Linked DNA regions of Homo sapiens: region 2 is linked to region 1. The links are contacts of gene promoters, found by promoter capture Hi-C in blood cells and fetal thymus (Javierre and others, 2016). All regions are on one chromosome and are shown on one strand. The core of a region is centred on a gene start or on the middle of the fragment in contact, and the rest is flanking DNA. Distances in the headings are between cores, read along the strand shown. Region 1 holds the start of ZNF829 (zinc finger protein 829). Region 2 overlaps ZFP82 (ZFP82 zinc finger protein).

Evidence for each region. The method cuts DNA at HindIII sites, captures the fragments that hold promoters and counts their contacts. A CHiCAGO score of 5 or more calls a contact.
Region 2: a contact is called between a fragment that was not itself captured here and the fragment with the promoter of ZNF829 in region 1, in 1 of 17 cell types (total CD8 T cells). The highest score is 6.2, in total CD8 T cells.

Annotation. Positions count from the first base shown.
Region 1 is chr19:36,913,494-36,921,047 of GRCh38, reverse strand. It overlaps ZNF829 (zinc finger protein 829), which reads left to right and starts at 4,757. Exons shown (of 6, transcript NM_001037232.4): 1 at 4,757-5,037; 2 at 5,797-5,918; 3 at 6,026-6,083. The coding sequence starts at 5,881. It overlaps ZNF568 (zinc finger protein 568), which reads right to left and starts at 4,716. Exons shown (of 7, transcript NM_198539.4): 1 at 4,457-4,716; 2 at 3,400-3,469. RefSeq lists enhancers at 4,632-5,011, 5,072-5,121. The HindIII fragment of the contact is 8,467 bases long and covers 409-7,554 here.
Region 2 is chr19:36,389,527-36,397,080 of GRCh38, reverse strand. It overlaps ZFP82 (ZFP82 zinc finger protein), which reads left to right. Exons shown (of 5, transcript NM_133466.4): 5 at 2,971-7,554. The coding sequence ends at 4,340. Among named protein-coding and RNA genes, the nearest start is that of ZFP14, 14 kb to the right of the region's middle. The HindIII fragment of the contact is 206 bases long and covers 3,444-3,649 here.

The DNA.
Region 1 (7,554 bases), core at 3,508-6,007:
GGATGGTATAGCCTACTACCCACCTATGCTATATGGTATAGCCTATTGCTCCTAGGCTACGAACCTGTATGGCATGTTACTGTACTGAATACTGTAGACAACTGCAATACAAAGGTAGGTGTTTGTATATCTAAACATACCTAAACACAGGAGAGAAATGGTAAAAATATAATATAAAAGATAAAAAATGGTACACTGGTAAAGGGCACTTACCATGAATGAAACTTGCAGAACTGGAAGTTGCTCTGAGTGAGTGGCGAGTGAACGCAAAGGCCTAGGACACTACTGTACACTACTGTAGACTTTATAAACACTGTACACTTAGGCTACACTAAATTTATAAAATTTTTATTTCTTCAAATTGTTGAATTAGCCTTAGCTTACTATAACTTTGTTACTTTATAAGCTTTTCATTTTTTTTTTTTTTTAGATGGAGTCTCACTCTGTCACCCAGGCTGGAGTAATGGCACCATCTTGGCTAACTGCAACCTAAGCCTCCTGGGTTCAAGTGATTCTCCTGCCTCAGCCTCCCAAGTAGCTGGGATTACAGGTGTCTGCCACCACACCCGGCTAATTTTTGTATTTTTAGTAGAGACGGGGTTTCACCATGTTGGTCAGCCTGGTCTCTAACTCTTGACCTCCTGTAATCCACCCGCCTCGGCCTCCCAAAGTGCTGGGATTATAGGGGTGAGCCACTGTGTCCAGCCAGCTTTTCAATTTTTTAAAACTTTTTGACTCTTGTAGTAGCACATAGCTTAAAATGCATTGTACAGCTGTACAAAAATATTTTTTCTTTATATCCTTATTCTATAAGCTATCTTCTTAAAAATTTTTTAACTTTTTAAACTTTCTTGTTAAAAATTAAGACACAAACACCCATTAGCCTAGGCCTACACAGTGTCCAGGATCATTGGTGCTGGCTTTCACCTCCACATCTGGCCCCACTGGAAGATCTTCAGGGACAATAACACACACAGAGCTATCACATTCTATGATAACAATGCCTTCTTCTGGAATACCTCCTGAAGGACCTGAGGCTGTTTTACAGTTAACTTTTTTTAAATAAATAGGCATATGCTCCAAAGTAATGATAAAAAGTATAGTATAGTAGGCACATGAACCAGTAACATATTTATTATCATTACCAAGTATTATGTACTGTACATAATTTTATGTTATACTTTTATATGACTGGCAGCAGAGTAGGTTTGTTTACAGCAGCATCACTGCAAACACATGAGTAATGGTATTGTGCTACAGTGTTATATTGGCTAGAAAGTCACTAGGTGACAGGAATTTTTCAGCTCCATTATAATCTTACAGCAGGGGTCCTCAACCCCTGGGCCACGTACCGGTACTGGTACAGTACTGGTTCCTGGTTAGGAACCAGGCCACACAGCAGGAAGTGAGCAGCAGGTGAGTGAGCATTACCGCCTGAGCTCCACCTTCTATCAGATTAGTGGTGGCATTACAGCCTTACAGGAGTGTGAACCCTCTTCTGAACTGTGCATGCGAGGGATATAGGTTGCTTGCTCCTTATAGGAATCTAATGCCTCATGATTTGAGGGACAACAGTTTCATCCTGAAACCATAACCCTCCCATCCCCCAGTCCCTGGAAAAATTGTCTTCCACAAAACCACTCCCTGGTGCCAAAAAGGCTGGGGACCACTGTCTTACAGGACCACTGTCATGTATGTATATAGTCCATACATATATGGCACATGACTATAATTTAGTTATATATACTGTCCACCCACCCCCCTCAACATAAACTCCATGAAAACAAGGACTTATTTTTGTCTGTTTTTGATATTCATAGTAGGTGCTCAAAAATATGCTGATAAAATGGTTCAGTCATTATCGAAAACACTATGACAATCAAAGATTAAAAACAGACATTACCACATGTATATATAAAAAACTGAAAGCAGGGACTCAGATAGTTGTATACCCATGTTTGTAGCAGTGTCACTTGCAATTGCCAAAAGGTAGAAGCAGCCCAAGTGTCCAATGATGAATAAATTGATAAACAAAATATTTATCCATATATGACATACTTATCATTCGGCCTTAAAAAAGGAGGAAATTCCAATACATGCTAACATGGATGAATCTTGAGGACGTTATGCTAAGTTAAATCAGGGTCACAAAAGCACAAACAACATATGATTCTGCTTATATGAAGTATTTAGAATAGTCAAATTCAGAGACAGAAAGTAGAATGGTAGATGCCATAGGCCGGGGGAAAGGGGGGTACAGAGTTATTGTTTGATAGGTACTGGGTTTCTGTTTTGCAAGAAGAAGAGTTCTCTGGCTGGATGGTGGTGACGGTACCATAACAATGTGAATGTACTTCATGCCACTGAACTGTACACTTATATATGGTTTAGATGGTAAATTCTATGTTGTGTATTTTACCACAATTAAATATACATGTGTGTATACATAGTTGGTCCTCCTTATCCACAGGTTCTGCATCCTCAGATTCAATCAGCCTCAGATAAAAAATACAGTTAGGCCTACTACAGTTGTGTCTGTACTGAACACGTACAGTACAGATTTTTTTCTCATTATTCCCTAAACAATAACGTGTAACAATGATTTACACAGCATTTACATTATATTAGGTATTACAAATAATCTAGAGATGATTTAATGTATAAAGAAGGATGTAGGGACTTGAGCATCTGTGGATTCTGGTATCCATGGGGGGTCTTGAAACCAACCCCTCCTGGATACGAACTGTATATAGAATAAATGAGCTACTACTACTAATTTGGGGATTTAAAACTAGAAGAGAATAGGCTGGGCATGGTGGCTTACGCCTGTAATCCCAGCACTTTGGGAGGCTGAGGTCGGCAAATCACGAGGTCAGGAGATCTACCATGGTGGCTAACATGGTGAAACCCTGTCTCTGCTAAAAATACAAAAAATCAGCCGGGCGTGGTGGCGCGTCTGTAGTCCCAGCTACTCGGGAGGCTGAGGCAGGAGAATCGCTTGAACTCGGGAGGCGGAGTTTGCAGTGAGCCGAGACCGTGCCACTGCACTCCAGCCTGGGTGACAGAGCGAGACTCCGTCTCAAAAAAACAAAACAAAACAACAACAACAACAAAAACTAGAAGAAAATAATATATGAGACAAGAATAACACAGAAATTGGTGGATATTTTGGAGTTCAAGTATTTTAAAGTCTTAAGGTTGAGTTTTGTTAAGCATGCATATTAAAAAAGGATAATAGCAGAAACCAACCTAGGGGAGAAAAAGGGATAAGGTGAATTTGCACAATAAAAAAAGATATATGTGCAACTATTATATGTCAATCAAAAATGTTTAAGGCGTAATAGAAAATAAAACATTTTTTATGAGCAATCATGATAAATGCCACTGAACTATACTCACCTATTAAAATAACAGTCAAACAAGATAAACGGATGTAAGCCCAGCAATATGCTCTTTACAAGACACAGATCTGAAACATAAAGACACAAGGGGGTTAGAAAATGAAATTCTTAAGAAATACAATAAAACTTGAAAAGCAATATTATCAGACAAAAGAGAACCCGGACTAAAAGGCATTCACCAGGATAAAGAGGTATGTTTCTTAAGGTGGTAGACTGGAATTTTAGTCCAATTCCTCACACCCTCTAATAGATTATTATTCATACTCTTTGCGAGGTAACTTTGCTCTCCAACTGTGGGCATAATTGATTTTAGGCTTAGCCATGTGACTTGCTCTGGTTGAGGCAATCTCTCTTGCGCTCTGGTGACCCATCAGGAGCAGAGCATGCCCTGGCAACAAATGTCCTTTTGGCCTGAGACCCTGAAAGAACACATGCGGCGCAGATCTTAACTCGTCACGCAGCCTATCCACTCAGCCAAGCCCCACCTAGATCAGCTGAACACAGTCAATGCGCAAGCCTGTGAACAGGAGAGTAAGGACTTGCTGTTGTATGGCATTGAGTTCAGGGGTGGTTTTTAGACATAATTATTATCATGGCAATAGCTAACTAACATACATAAAAGCAGCAAGTCATAAGATAATAATGAACCTGAAAAGTTCGCCAAGGAATAGTGGAAAATTACAAAGGGCCAAGGGCTACTAGGGTAAAAAAGACAGCAAAGAAGACTACAGAGGAGTGGCCAACAAGGAGGGAGGATCAGTAGAAAACAAATAAGTGTTTTTCAAGCCGTTACCAACTGTGCCAAATGCTACAGAAAAGCCAGCTCAAGACAAGAACTACTAGACATATTACAATCACGCACACTTCGCCACGTTCACACTCGCTACAGCCTTAATCATAATCACACACATATCACACATTTCATCATAATCCCGCGCAACCAAATATCACAATCACCCCATCAGATTATTCGTGCCGTCACACTCACACACACAACCACACACCCACACTAACTCCCATCACAGTTTTTTGTCCCATCAACTGCAACCACTCACCATTAGCGTACCCTGAGCACTCCCCACTGCCGCTACTCGGGACACTCTGGGCCTTAGAGGATCCGTGTCCCGTCAACCGCGAGTCCCTTGCTCGCCCCCTGCTGCGGGGACTCGGCAGCGTCACCTGCCGGAAACACCCGAATGTTCATCCCGCGCGCAGTTTCTGAGATGCTGGGTGAAGGCGACCCGCAGATAGGTCTGTGACAGACGCCTAAAGCGCCGAACCATCCCTCCGCGCCAGCGACGTTTCCGAGGACAACACCTCCCAGCAGGCCCCGCGGCCCCACTCAACTTCCGGCCAGAACACATCTGCTTTCCTGTGTGAGGGTGAGGCTTGGGCCGGGTTCCCCGGGAGGCTCATCTCCATTGCGCAGCGCTACGGCGACCCGCAACTCCGAGGCTCGGCTGGATGTTGAGAGTTGAGGGAGCAGCCGTTTCGGGTGGGCCCAGGCGAGGAGCTGACAGGAATCGGCGTGGGTCCCGCTCTGGACTACATTTCCCAGAGGGCCTGGTGGCCTGCCACTTTTCTCGCAGGAATTCGAACGTTTCGTCACTCCTGGCGGGACCCTTAGATCTGGGAGGTGAGATATTTTGGTCCCCAGGAGAACTGGCTCAGGTCTGCAAGTTCCCATCCGGGATGACTGGAAAGGGCTTAGGTGAGGATACCGAAGACCGATGGGGAGCTGGCGCCTTGGGCCCCTGCGGGCGGAGCGGCCTGAAAGGTGGAGGTTGTGTTTGGGAGGCCGAGGCAGGAGGATCACGAGGTCAAGAGATCGAGACCATCCTGGCCAACATGGTGAAACCCCATCTCTACTAAAAATACAAAAATTAGCTAGGCATGGTGGCGCGCGCCTGTAATCCCAGCTACTCGCAGGCTGAGGCAGGAGAATCACTTGAACCCGGGAGGCGGAGGTTGCAGTGAGCCGAGATCGCACCACTGCACTCCAGCCTGGCGACAGGGCAAGACTCTGTCCCCACCCCACCCCACCCCCCCAAAAAAAGAGGGGAGGTTGTGAAATTGTCTGGGAGATAATAACACTGCGGCTTATGTGCGGATATGGGATACCTGTCACTGTGGGGGTTGTGGCTGTGTGTTCCCGTGGTGATGTGTGATTGTGACTCTGCGACAGTGTGGGGTGCCTACGATTGTGCAGCTGTAATTGTGTGTTTCCTATGGTGTGTATGTGATTGTAACTGTGTTGCCGTGTGTGGCTCCTTGTGGGCAGGTGAGACGTGCATGTCGCCTTAAGTGTGACTGTCCCTAAATGTATGTGGCATTCTGTGTATGAGTATGGGGTCCTGTCAACTATGCGATTGTGACTCCAGAACTCTGTCTCTAGGAAACCTCTCTGAGGTCTGGTCAGATTCCAACCCTGGACAGCAGTGAACACAACCTTTCCCCTGAGCCACTGGAATTGGACAGAATGCCCCATTCTCCTCTGATCTCCATTCCTCATGTGTGGTGGGTAATGGGGCTGGGGAAGAACTCTTACTTGACTAATCTGGGTACCAAGAAAAACCTGGTGTCTCACAGTTACTCTTCCCTCTCCCAATTTTACCTTTCTCCAGGTGTCACCCAGAAGAGGAGGAAAGAATGCATGATGAACTTCTACAAGCAGTATCCAAGGTGTGTTGGGGTTTCCTCTTTTTCTTCTGAAAATTCTTGCTTAAAGGAATGTCATTTAATTATAGGTCCCTATAATTTTCCCATCACAGAAAAGGATGGTTGCTCCACTTATGCTTGCTGAATTTTCTTCTCAAATATTTATTCTGATTTAAAAATAAAAGGATGATTAATTTAGAGATCTCAAAAACACAGCATTACCAAGAAAAAATAAAATTTAGCCACTCAGATAACTAGGGTTAATATTTTAATGTATTTTCATTATTTGTCAAAAACCAAATTTTATTTCATTTACCATTTGATGTTCTACATTTTTGCAAAAAGAAGTGTCAGAAATATTCTCCCATGTCATCAAATGGTCTTGGGAAATACATTTTTGATGTTTGCAAAAACTATGATATACAAATCAGACATGCCAGACTTTTAAATCCTCATTTGAATATATATCTGTACTTATACCCGCCCACCCCCACAGGTTTGAATTTGGGTTTCCGTGATTAATAATAAAATTGAACATATTCCATATGTTTATTGGTTTTTAGTCATCTTTTGTGACATGTCAGTTCAAATCTTTACTCATTTTTCTCTTGGAATAGCTCTTATTGATTCGTATGAGTTATTTATGTAATCTGGATCTCAGTCCTTTATTGATTGTTTTCCTACTATTTGGACTATTTCATCATTTCCTGTAAGATGATTTTATGATAAGTTCTAATTTTTAAAAAGCTGAGTTTATCAATATTTTTTCTTTATGGTTAGTGCTTTTTGTATCTTTTTAAATAAATCCTTCCCTGTCCCAAGGTCATGCAGATACTCTCCTATATTTATGCTTAAAGCCATAAGTTTCACTTTCATGTTTAGATATTTTATATAGTTGCAACTGGTTTTTGTATATGTTATGAGGTAAGAGTCAGATTCCCCCCTCCTTATTAATACCCAGTTTATCAATACCATATATTGGAAGGTCTATTGTGTTCTCATTGGTCTTCAAATATACCTAGTGTCTATATGTGCATGGGTATGTTTATGAACTCTTTATTCTCTTCCACTGATTTTTTATATTCCTGTGCCAGTATCATACAGTCTTGATTAGCTCGTCTCCCTTGATGGTAATCTGCCTTGTCTTCCTCTGACTGTTTTGTTTTTGGCTTTCTGTAATTTTAGTGTAAGATATATAAATGTGTTTTATTTGTCTGCTTGGGATTTGTAGAGTTTTAAAATTTATGGATGGATATCTATTATTAGTTCAGGAAAATCTTCAGTCATTATACCTTCAAAAAGCCCCCGTATCATTCTCTCCCCCTTTCCTTCTCAGGTTCTAACTAAACATATGTTAGAATTTCTTCTTCTTTTCTGTGTCTTATCTCTTTTTGGTTTTTAGAGTTGATACTTATAGCTGAAATCAAAGCAAACAAAAGAACCTTGCCTCATCTCAGGAGGGGGCAGTGGGCATGGCAGGCAATTACAGAGTTTT
Region 2 (7,554 bases), core at 2,297-4,796, 520 kb after region 1:
TTTATTACTTCTATTTCTGTATTCTAACTAATTCTGCTTTTATATCGGTTAATATTTTTCTTCTGCTTTACTTCAGCTTAATTTTATTTTCTTTTTTTGAATGAGACTTTTAACGATGTTTTTCACTTTTATTGCTGTATTTTAGTTTGTAAATTTTCTTATAAGCACTATGGTTATGTTTTATAGATACTTATATGCAGGTTTTCAAAATGTAGGCTTAATTTTTTTTTTTTTTTTAAAGAAACAGAGTCTTGCTCTGTCACCCAACCCAGAGTGCAGTGGCATAGACAGAGCTCACTGCAGCCTTGACCTCCTGGGCTCAAGCACTTCTCCTACCTTAGTCTCCCAAGTAGCTGGGACTATAGCACACACTACCATGCCCAGCTAATTTTTTAATTACTTTATTTATGTATGTATTTTTTTTTGAGATGGAGTCTCGCTCTTTCACCCAGGCTGGAGTGCAGTGGCGCGATCTCGGCTCACTGCAAGCTCCGCCTCCCAGGTTCACGCCATTCTCCTGCCTCAGCCTCCCGAGTAGCTGGGACTACAGGTGCCTGACACCCCGCCCAGCTCATTTTTGTGTGTGTGTCTATTTTTAGTAGAGACGGGGTTTCACCGTGTTAGTCAGGATGGTCTCGATCTCCTGACCTCGTGATCCACCCATCTCGGCCTCCCAAAGTGCTGGGATTATGTGCGTGAGCCACTGCGCCCAGCCAATTTATTATTTTTAGAGATGAGGTCTTGCCATGTTGCCCTGACTGGTCTTGAACTCCTGGGCTGAAGAGATCTTCCTGCCTTGGCCTCCTCAAGTGCTGGGATTACAGGTGTGAGCCACCACACCTGGCCTCCCATTATTTTCAAAAAAACAAAAATACAGCCAGGTGGCCTGGCTCATGCCTGTAATCCTAGCACTTTGAAAGGCAGAGGTGGGAGGATCACTTGAGGTCAGGAGTTTGAGACTAGCCTGGCCAACATGGTGAAACCCTGTCTCTACTAAAAATACAAAAAAAAAAAAAAAATAGCCAGGCGTGGTGGCACATGCCTATAATCCCAGCTACTCAGGTGGCTGAGGCAGGAGAATCGCTTGAACCCAGGAGGCAGAGGCTGCAGTGAGCTGAGGTCACACCACTGCACTCCAGCCTGGGTGACAGAGTGAGACTCTGTCTCAAAAAACAAACAAACAAGCAAAAATCAAAAACATTGTTTCAGATCTTATTTTCCTATTGACCTAAGAGTTATTTAATATAGACTTTTGAATTTTCAGGTAGATTTTACTTGTGTTTCTTTTAATTTTATTATTAATTTCCAGTTTTAGTAGAAAATGTCTATATAATTTCAACCTTTTTTTTTTGCTAACTCCTAGTTTTGTGTCTAGATTTCAGCTTTTTAATAGAGACCACCTTATCATAATTGAAAACCTCATCCTGTTTCTCTCTCATACACAACTCATTCAGCTTGTAGATTTTCCTCTGGCTGTTCCTGTTGCTGGCTTGCCATCCTCTGGCCTACATGTAACGTGACTTCTGTTAGCAAGTCCTTCACATTCAGATGACTGCAACAGTTGAACATGCACATTACTTTTTTCCACATTTCTGAGTTACAGGCATATCCTGTCTTTTTGTGCCATGAATTTCATAAGAACTTCAGTAAGATATAGACGTGTTTTCCTGTCCGAAAAATCACTGATACACATTTCCTAAAAAAACAGGAATGGCCTTGACTATGAGGGAATGGAAAGGAGAAAACCTGAGCAATGGGAGGAAAGAACAAAACCAGTTGAACATTTGTCAAATGAATGAGTAATAGAATAAGTTGAAGGGAAGATTGAGTAGGTAGAACTCCTCAATACCTTTGCTATGGTGTAGAGACAAAGAAAAAGTTACCCATAGCTATGTGAAGGGGCAAATGGGCAGTGCACTGCATAGGTAAAGGCATAAGCAGTGGCAGATGCATAGGAATATACAGCCACCTATTTCCATTCTTGTATTTAGCTGGGCTGCCCTGGATGAATAAAGAGAATATTTAATCACTGTAGTAAGGCATGAGAGACTAGAGGCAGAGAGATACATTTAGAACAAGTATGTAGCTATGGGAATTAAATGAGTAAAACCTATTATATGCTTAGCATTTATTACTTAATGTAGCGTTAACTAGGGATTGTTTCTGTCCTTGAGGAGGTTTATAGGTAAGAATAGGCAGTATAACAATTGGAGAAGTTAATAAATATATAATTTTTAAATTGAGAGCTATTATAAAGGCAAGGAATAGAGAATAGCAACATGGATTTAGGTACTATCAATAGGGTCAACCTTAAAGGAAATGACTTTTAATCTAAGATCTCAAGATGAAAGGAGCCAGCCATGCAAAGAGCCCAATCAGGAGATTTGTGGGAGATAGAACAGACTGTGAAGAGTCCTAAGAGATGGAAGTAAGTTAGGACATGTGAGGTCTGCAAGGAGGCCTCTCCAGGGAGCAGTAAAGGGGACACTGGTTTGAGATCATATGATGTAGGTAAGCAGAGGCCTTCTTAACCACAGTGAGCTTGACTGGATTCTGAGAATGAAGAAAGATGAAAAAAATTTAAGTATAGATTCTCGACCTCTCATCTTCATCAGAATTATCATGTAGAGAATATTAAATATCCTTCCAGGACTGCAGAGTCTGATCCAGGTGGTTTGGGTGGTGTCTAAACCTCAGTGTTAGTAACAAGCTATGTGGTGATTCTGATCCACACCTCAATATGAGAACCACTGACTTAAAATGTTTACTTCATCACCAATCTTGCTATTTTGTATGAACTCTCATTTTTCCTGATGTTCCCTTTGGCTTTTTTTTTCTTTCCAAATTGTATAACAATATTTTAGAGTTTTGGTTAAGGATTACTTTTGTTGTCTTTTATTTCTACATTAGAAATGTTGCTTCTTTTAGTAAAAGAAAACAGCATGTGTTTGCTTTCTTGTTTTATTTTAGATTTGGAGACCAAGTATGAGACCAAGAAGTTATCTTTAGAAAATGACATTTATGAAATAAATTTATCCCAGTGGAAGATAATGGAAAGAATTGAAAACCATGGCCTTAAGGGTCTCATTTTAAAAAATGATTGGGAATCCACAGGAAAAATTGAAGGACAGGAGAGACCTCAAGAAGGATACTTCAGTAGTGTGAAAATGCCATCTGAAAAGGTGTCCTCTTACCAGAAACGCACATCTGTTACTCCACATCAGAGACTTCATTTTGTTGATAAACCCTATGAATGTAAGGAATGTGGGAAGGCGTTCAGAGTGCGCCAACAGCTTACTTTTCATCACAGAATTCATACTGGTGAAAAACCGTATGAATGTAAGGAATGTGGGATGGCCTTCAGACAGACTGCACACCTTACTCGACATCAGAGACTTCATTCTGGTGAAAAACTCTATGAATGTAAGGAATGTGGGGAAGCTTTCATATGTGGTGCAGATCTTAGAGTACATCAGAAAATGCATATTGGTGAGAAGCCCTATGAATGTAAAGAATGTGGGAAGGCTTTTAGGGTACGAGGACAACTTACTCTGCATCAGAGGATTCATACTGGTGAGAAACCCTATGTGTGTAAAGAGTGTGGAAAAGCCTTTAGACAGTACGCACACCTGACTCGGCATCAGAAGCTTAATAGTGCTGACAGGCTCTATGAATGCAAAGAATGTGGGAAGGCCTTTTTGTGTGGCTCTGGTCTTAGAGTACATCACAAACTTCATACTGGTGAGAAACCCTATGAATGTAAGGAATGCGGGAAGGCCTTTAGAGTGCGACAACAACTAACACTCCATCAGAGAATTCATACTGGTGAGAAACCCTATGAATGTAAGGAATGTGGAAAGACCTTTAGCCGTGGTTATCATCTTATTCTCCATCACAGAATTCATACTGGTGAAAAACCTTACGAATGTAAGGAATGCTGGAAAGCCTTTAGTCGCTACTCACAACTTATTTCACATCAGAGTATTCATATTGGTGTTAAGCCCTATGACTGTAAGGAATGCGGGAAGGCCTTCAGACTACTTTCACAACTCACACAGCATCAGAGTATTCATATTGGTGAGAAACCTTATAAATGTAAGGAATGTGGCAAGGCCTTTAGATTGCGCCAAAAACTTACTCTACATCAGAGCATTCATACTGGCGAAAAACCCTTTGAGTGTAAGGAATGTAGGAAGGCCTTTAGACTTAATTCATCCCTTATTCAACATCTGAGAATTCATTCTGGTGAGAAACCCTATGAATGTAAGGAATGTAAGAAGGCCTTTAGGCAACATTCACACCTTACTCATCATCTGAAAATTCATAATGTAAAAATCTAAGAAAGTCTTTTCAACTTCTGTGTTATAGAACATTCTATGAATGTAGTAATTAATCTATTTTGCTCCATACATGCAACTGCGTTGGCATTAGAGGTTTTATACCATTAAAAGAGTGTGACAATGTATTGTAGTCCATCATCACTCAAACCTGAAACTTCAGCATATTTGTTCTAAAAACTAATCCTGTTATAAGAATGAAAAAGACATTTACCGTCATCCCTATCCCATCACTTTGTGTCATACTGGACAAGACGCTTAACTGCTCTGTGCTATAATTTTTTAATTTATGACATGGTCATATAAGAGTGCAGCAGTTTGACACACTTTCAATCAAGAGGTGGAATCTACATCCCTCTGTTGTATACAGGAATCTACATCCCTCTGTGACTGCTTCGCCCAGTAGAATATGGTAGACGTACTGCTGTGCTGGTTTCTTGACTCAGACTTTACTGGTAGGGTTACTTCATCTCATGAAATGACAGAACTGTCTTGTTACAAAGTCTGGCTACTTTGCTGAAGAGACCACATGAAGAGGCCCTGAAACTACGTAGAGAGGGAGAGGCACCTGCTGAACCCTGTCTTCTTGACATCCACCAAGATACCAGACATTTGAGTGAAATTTTGGATCCACCAGACCAGCCACCAGCTAAATGCCAGTGAGCGACTTGGTAACCTGAACTGATGCCATGTAGAATGGAAGAATTGACCAGCTGAGCCCCTGGCCCAAATTTCTGACCCACAAAAACATGAGATATAATAAAATGGTTGTTGTTTTAAGCCACTAAACTTTCTTTTATTATCATACTAAATATTTATTTTTACATAATTCATACTAAAGGCTGTGGGCATAATGAGTATAGAAATGCCTTCCACCAACATTTAATCTTCATTGAACTTGAGATATCTTATTCTCGTTAAAATATTGAAAGTAAGGAATTCCTTTCCAGTTTGTTCATTAAAAAACAGATACCCTAGACCAGGTGAGGTGGCCCATGCCTGTAAATCCAGCACTTTGGGAGGCCAAGTAAGGACGATTGCTTGAGGCCAGAAGTTCGAGACCAGCCTGGGCAACATGGTGAGACCCTGTCTCTACCAAAAAACTTTAAAAATTAGCTGGGCATAATGGTGCATGCCTGTAGTCCTAGCTACTCGAGGCTGAGGTGGGAGGATCATTTGAACCCAAGAGTTGAGGCTTCAGTGAGCTGTGATTGTACCACTGCACTCCAGCTTGAGTGACTGCAAGACCCTGTCTCAAAAAAAAAAAAAAACTACAATCAGTATTCTCTGGCCCCAGTCAATATTAAAAATTGACAAAGGATAACATGAAACTTTGGAAATTAAAAGTCACCTGTATTATGAAGCCCCATTAATTTTTTAAACTACTTCATTGTTTTTTAAAAATGCTAAATTGTCAATTTAGCATTTTGAGGCAATCCCCTCAAATTGGCTCCTGTGTCCTTTTATCATGACCACTCCAACCTTTGAGCTTTTTTTTTTCCTGAACCAAATGCATTGATTAGTTATGGAGCATACTAGAGCATTATTAACAAATAAAGGAAAAGAATGGAATATTTACCTTGCCTATCCTTTACAAACTATATTTCAAGACAACCAAAAGTTGGTGAAGGAAAGTTGTTGATTAGAGAATTCCAACTGGTTAAAAGGTCAAAGGAGGCCAGGCGCGGTGGCTCAAGCCTGTAATCCCAGCACTTTGGGAGGCCGAGGCAGGTGGATCGTGAGGTCAGGAGATCAAGACCATCCTGGCTAACACGGTGAAACCCCATCTCTACTAAAAATACAAAAAATTCGCCGGGCGTGGTGGCAGGCGCCTGTAGTCCCAGCTACTCAGGAGGCTGAGGCAGGAGAATGGCTTGAACCCGGGAGGCGGAGCTTGCAGTGAGCCGAGATCGCGCCACTGCACTCCAGCCTGGGTGACAGACCGAGACTCTGTCTCAAACAAAAAACAAAAAACAAAACAAAACAAAGATCAAATGAATGATAGAATTTGAAAACTACGCTCTTTAATTTTACAAAATCATGGATTTTCGTGGTGATAGCAATGGATGCGAAGACCATTAGGTGAAAAATGGATAGGAAGCTTATAATGCATGGAGCAGAATGACAGGACACTAATCTATATTAACATCTCTAAATGAGATCAGCCAGATGAACTTGATGTGATGAAATGGATACACACAGTGGACACCTGTGAAGTTTTCTTGGCTCCCCCAAAACTGAGAAGTACAAGTTAGTCTCCAAACCTAATTACCAGTTTACAGGAAACATGGGGAATAAAAGAACAAATTAACAACACAAAGAAGCAAACAACCAAATGCACAATTTGGGAAATTCTGCAGAAGTAATGGCCTAGTTTTTTAACCAATACATGTCAAAAAAAAAAAAAAAAAAGACAAAAATGGAATCCTACACTTTAAAGGAGACTAAGAAACGTATCCTTCAAATACAGTGTATGGAGCATTTTAGGATCCTTGTGTTAAAATGCGCTTGGGATTTGTTTTAATCAATCATGGTGAGACAGGCAGACATGGAAATTATTGTCATGAAGGAAGAAGTTTATACGCAGATCCCACAAACGGGAGGCATGGCATGGCATGCAGGGTCACGTAAAGAAGCACCTGGGTGTATCAGGAGGCAGAGGGTGAGAGCACAGCATGGCCCAGAGCTTTTATTGGGGGTTTTCATGGGAAGGAATGGACAAGGCAGGGGTAGGCACACTGGTAAGCTTAGGATTGAATAGTTTGAGTAATTTTGTTGGTCTCTGGGATCTAGGGGGGATTCGTAATTGTCTAGTTAGGGCAGGGGAATATTGAATTGGTGTATGAGAGTTTGGTAAAGGAGATAGTTGGGAGTATGGGCTCTGGATTGGTTGGTTTGTATATGAAAGGCATGCTTGCAGTGGAGTTTATCATCTATGCATTAGCTTGCCCTGGGAGGGGCAGCCTATCCAGGATCAAGGCCCCAAGTGGCCAGAGCATCAGGAATACAGAAAATAAAGAAAACATAGTCAATACAAGATTTGAAGGAATAAAATGTCTCTACATATTGTACAAATGTAAACATGGATTGGTTACTAAATGATACGAAATAATTTATTGTTCATATGTTAGGCATGACTATGGCATTATGGGTATATGTGTATGAGTCCTTAAGTGTTAGAGATTCATACTGAGGTATTTAAGGCTGAAATGTTATG